Regions from separate parts of the Homo sapiens genome. Here region 2 is linked to region 1. Evidence: promoter capture Hi-C in 16 types of primary human blood cells and fetal thymus (Javierre and others, 2016). All regions are on one chromosome and are shown on one strand. Each heading gives the region's core, a stretch centred on a gene start or on the middle of the fragment in contact. The rest is flanking DNA. Distances are from core to core; before and after follow the strand shown.

The links. The method cuts DNA at HindIII sites, captures the fragments that hold promoters and counts their contacts. A CHiCAGO score of 5 or more calls a contact.
Region 2: a contact is called between a fragment that was not itself captured here and the fragment with the promoter of MCHR2-AS1 in region 1, in 8 of 17 cell types (M0 macrophages, erythroblasts, M2 macrophages and 5 more). The highest score is 8.8, in M0 macrophages.

Annotation. Positions count from the first base shown.
Region 1 is chr6:99,992,700-99,995,399 of GRCh38, forward strand. MCHR2-AS1 (MCHR2 antisense RNA 1) reads left to right here and starts at 1,339. Exons shown (of 3, transcript NR_038384.1): 1 at 1,339-1,505. It overlaps MCHR2 (melanin concentrating hormone receptor 2), which reads right to left and starts at 1,524. Exons shown (of 6, transcript NM_001040179.2): 1 at 1,237-1,524. The HindIII fragment of the contact is 7,930 bases long and covers 1-2,700 here.
Region 2 is chr6:100,524,817-100,527,516 of GRCh38, forward strand. The region is part of intron 37 of ASCC3 (activating signal cointegrator 1 complex subunit 3); the gene reads right to left. Among named protein-coding and RNA genes, the nearest start is that of SIM1, 61 kb to the left of the region's middle. The HindIII fragment of the contact is 500 bases long and covers 1,137-1,636 here.

The sequences.
Region 1 (2,700 bases), core at 89-2,588:
GCTTTGTGCAGTCTAATAGTCTGTGTTAGGCTAAGAGTCGAATAACATTGCCCTTGTAATTATCTTGTCATAGCCATAAGACAGTAAGTGAGGGCATGTCTGCTCTGCAAAAGGCCAATTCAATTGTGACATTAAACATATGCCTGATCCAAATGAAACACAAATAATGGGTTACCAACCCAATCCAGTCATTTCCAGCCAGTCAGCATCCCCACCCCCCCATCTCTACCCACTAAGTTATACTAACAAACAGGTTATTATTTAAGTAGAAAAATGCATTATTAAGAAGTCAGAAAACATTCATTGAAAACAGATTGCCTCCCCATTTGCGCTGAGCTAAGTTCTATGAAATTAGAACTGCGCATTCCTCAAATCCAGAAGATTTTGTGTTCATGCCTGATTCTTTAGTGGTAGCTTCAGGGCCATTTTAATAAGAAGATTCCACCTCAAACAAAGATATTAGGCTTTGGGGCAAAGCCTCATTAAAAAATACAAGAAGCACATTTTTAGAAAGAATTTTTCAAAGGCTGTCAGAAGCCCCAGCTGAGTTGCAAAGGGCCTAGGCTACCACCTGCCTACTTTCCCCAGTTCTCTGACAGCCGCTAACTAACTTCCCTAGGGCCACTGAGGAGTTCAGATGACCTGACCGTGCAGGAGTCCTGTGACAGAGGAATAATATTAACTAAGTTAACTAAGTGGGAATGGGGGCTTCACAGAAGGCCGTCCGGAGGCGCGTACAGGGGACACGGGGATCTACCTGGAGGAAGAACTGAATTTGTCTTTTCTAGTTCAAAAAAGCCTTCCCGAACTCTTAGCAAACAAGCCAGTGATCGCCTCCTCGCCTTCGCCACTTCAGTTCAGCCTCTTTAGTCCCCATGGAGAGCCGGGATGAACTAGCCCGGCGCGCTCCAGCGGTCTCGGTCGGGGCCGCTGCTTCCCGGAAAGCCACTCCCTTTTTCTTTTCCCACCTGTGTTTCCATTTTCTTTGCCGAGTGTGAAACCAGCCGGCCACCCACCCGCCCCGCTCCGTCTCGTAGGTGCCTCCACAGAGCCAAACTTTGTACCTTCTGGGGATGGAGGGGGATCCCCCAGCAATCAGACACTACCGGCGAGCCAGCCCCGGGGAGGGGCGACTGGTGGACCAGGCGCCAGACCTTCCCGGGCGCGCAGCCCACGGGCCCTGGGGCGCGCCCACGCCAGAGCCCGGCCCTCGCGCGGCAGCCCGCGGGACGTCACCTGGGTGCTCGCGTCCTCCCCGCGCGGCGGACAGCCCGGGCGCCCTTCCTCTCTGCGGGACTGCAGGTCTATCCGCTAAGCGCGCGTGACCAAAAACGGCTCTCAGCGGGTCCCAGCTGACGGAAGGTGGGGGAGGAGTGCGAGGGTCTCTGAGACAGGTTGGGAGCCAGCCCCACCTCCATTTCCAAAGCGGGGGTCCAGGCACAGGAACAGCCAAACGCCCGAACCAGCGGGGTTACCTTTGCCACTTCATCCAATCCGAGCATCGGGTGCGTCGTGCTCTTTTCTAGGAGCGTGGGGTGCCTTCGCGAATAAAATCTGAAGGCATCTCTGCTCTCGCGGAGCTTGTTCTTTCTTATTTTCAAGTGCTTATCTAGACTGGTAGTCACTAAAGTTCCTGTGAACATTTGTAGGTGTTTTCAGCTAAGCAGTAATAGAAACTCGACCTCCATTTTATATGAACAAGTGTTTATTGATGTACCAAAGGTTTAAAGGAAGGGAAAGGGGAAAGGAGAGAGGAAAGAAGAAACCCATAATACCACCAAGGAACTTGTTTTGTTTTCACGAACTTTTAATCCACCCAGTACAACTGCTTTATAATGATCTTTAGCTTCATGCTTGCACCCTGATCAAATCTGCTGGCCTTAGTAGCTACTTAGCAAATAAGGTGACAAGGACGAAGCTGGAGTTGGATCACTTTCCACCCAAGGGAGCCTCATACGATTTTGGAGACAGGCAGCCCGCCCCGCATTCCACCTCAGCTTTATCATTTACTGTTAGGCATATGACCTCGGGCAGGTTCTTTAATGTTTCTCATCCTCAGTTGCTCATTTGGTACTACCAGAATTGTAAAACTGCCCTCCCAGGGATGCTAAGAGGCTTCACTGGCTTGACATATGCAAAAGCCCTCAAATCAGGCCTGCCATGTAGTTAGTGCTCAATATGTGGTCCCTATGATAATTATAGTCATTAGAGCACCTTTCAGAATCCTTCCTTCATCTATAAGATGAGTAGTCAGAGTGGCATGGCAAAATGTCCTGTATTTCACATTAAGTTAGGAAAATGAGAAAAACTTGAAAGGTTAGTGAAATTGGTTAAAATTTCAAAATTCAACAGATCAGAATTTTTAAAAGCAAGTGTAGAGTCAATGATTATACATTTCAGAACTGGAAGTCGCCTTAGAGTTAGTGTTTGTGCAAAAAGACATCATCTCTAAAATCTCTCAGAAAAATCAAGGAGATATGAGGATGGGAGATTAAATTTAAAGAGAATTTGGATTTCAAAGTGGGAGATTTCAAAGCATCTCTTAGGAAAGAAAAACAAGAAGAAACACTTGACCCATTTATTAGGCTGATTATCTAAACGCCCTCTACAATACCCTTGTGGAAAAGCCTTTTCTAGTTCTCTAATAATATAAAAATTCAGTCCACTATAAGTTTATACACCTTATGTTTTTTTCCAAGT
Region 2 (2,700 bases), core at 137-2,636, 530 kb after region 1:
ACCTTTCCTCCTTTTTCCCATATCTCTTGTCATCATCTTAATGTATCTAGTGTTAGTATAGGGATTACAATAAACATACGAAAATAAGATCACTGCCAGGAGCAGTGGCTCACGCCTGTAATCCCAGCACTTTGGGAGGCCAAGGCAGGACAATCACTTAAACCCAGGAGTTCAAGACCAGCTTGGGAAACAGTGAGATCCCATTAAAAAAAAATTGCTGGGTGTGGTGGTGTGTGCCTGTGGTCCTAGTTACTTGGAGCCTGAGGTGGAAGGATCGTTTGAGCCCAGGAGGTTGAGGCTACTATACTCCAGTGTGGGTGACAGAGTGAGACCCTGTCTCAAAAAAAAAAAAAAAAAAAAAAAAAAAGAAAGAAAGAAAAAGAAAAAGAAAAGAGAAAATAAGATCATGACAAAGGTTGAAGTGAGGCATGTCTGTTCAAATTAAATGACATGGGGATGATATATTGTCATCAGAGTTTAAAAGAAAGAAATTTATTTATGCCAAAATGAGAAAAATTACATTAATTTATAAAAACCAAGTTGTTATTTATAAAGTATCACAAGAATGCAAAACACTATGGAAAGATCATCAAAAACAGGAAAGTTTGAGAAACTTTCAGAGCCAAGAGGAGCCGGAGAAATGACTACTGAATTTAAAGGGATATCTACAATGAGACTCCAGAATAGAAAACGGCATTAGGGATCATCACACATTGTATACCTGTATCAAAATGTTATATGTACCCTCAACATAGGTACAAGTATTATATATCAAGAAAAAAATTTTAAAAAGAAAAAGGATATTAGGTGAAAAAGAATTGTGAATAAGTATAGACTTTAGTTAATAATTATTTGCCAAAATTGGCTTATTAATTGTAGCAAATGTACCTTACTAATATATTTAAGACGTCAATATTAGAAGAAAAATAGGTTCTAGGTATATGGGAACTTTGTACTATCTTTGCAACTTTTCTGGAAATGTAAAACTATTCTCAAGCAAAAAGTTTATTTAAAAAAATTACGGAAATTGATCCTAGGCAGCTTGTTAAAACATTAGTTGTTAGACATCTGCTAGAAAATGCACTATTTAGTTCAAGAGCTCCCAGAAGTTTTACAATGATGGGAAAACCTGAAAAAGCTTTCTTGACAGAAAAGCCACTCCTTTAAAGGTTCAGGTCACTTGCAAGTAATGATACAATATTTTGTCAATAATTAAAATGCTATAAGTACATTTATAAGAATCTTTTTCAATAGCAACAGTTGTTCATAGTAACTTTCTCCTGAACTTTTACCCCCAGAAGGTTAGCATTCAGGAAGCTCAGCTGCTGTCTAACAAACTTAATTAATCAAAAAGTCATTTCCGAGCTGTAACTATGAGTAAAAGCGCTTCAAGTGTGCTAGCAAGCCTACAAGTTAATCAAAATGCTAATGCAGTACAAATTAAAGTTGTGATTAACATTTCACAGTAGCTGCTTAAGTGAATTGATCACACAAATGGGTTAAGCATTACTCATTTCCTACAGCCCCAACCGGGAAAAGGGTTGTTATGTGGGTATAAGGAGAGGAGCAGGGGGTAGAAGGATCCTTCATAATAGCATCATATCATCAACAAACCACCACCAAATTGTTATACAAAAGCTTACAGGTAAAGTCACCCAGAGGGAAAACAGCCTTCCAAATTATATTATAGTCCTTGAAGGGAGATTGGCTATAAATCCACAAGAGTAAGTAAAGGTGTTTAACACCTCAAAATCCACACATTTGTGTTAGTTTTGGGAAAGCTAAATGCATCAACTCTGTATCACTTCCCTAGTGGAGAATGGTGCTTTGTTTTAGGTGGTGTTTTGGGAGATAAAATATAGCTTTGACCATCTAGGACTAGGATTCTGCACCACTGTGTGGTCCTTTGCATTTGGAAGAATAATCACTCAGGATTAAGTTCATTTAGAATTATTTGTTTTTAGTCATCCACTAATACGACTTCATCAGGTTTTTATGGCAGAATATGAACTCCGGGCAGTCTGGCCAGGAATGCAGCCTGAATTAGATTTCACCTTCATCTCTATGAATTTGATAAGGTCACATTAATACTTACAATAAGTAAACTACATTTGTTTGTGGATAATTCAGATTTGGCAGAAAATCTTAAAAACATTGTAAGACTCCACAAACAAAAAATCTCTTTTTCCAGTCTTGCCTATAAAAGAACTAAAAAGAAAAAAGTGAAATATTTATTTACCTATGATACACTGAGATCTATATACCCCAAGCATTGTACTCAAGTCACCTTAACAGTCGGTGTTGTTATAGTTGATAAGTTTCCAGCATACTTTAGATGATACAAAAGACCCCAATGTATGCTTATAGTATTAATGCTCATAGTTCCTTGAAACATATCCATAAATTATTTACTTATAATCTACCCATCTTTTTCTCAAAATGATTAGAAGAAGCTTTCTGAAGCTTCTTGCGCAGTACTGTCTATTTAAAGAGAACGTTTTCTTGGTCTAATTATAAGCATTTAAAAATTTGAAAAGATTCTACAGTAATACACAAGACTTTATCTACCATTTGCTATATCAAAACATTTCGTACAGGTATTGCATTAAGGGTTTCACCAAGTACTTCTATTGTTAAGCTCAGCAATACCTGGACTATTTTCACTGCTAAATGTATTTAAACTCTGCAATTCTAAAACTC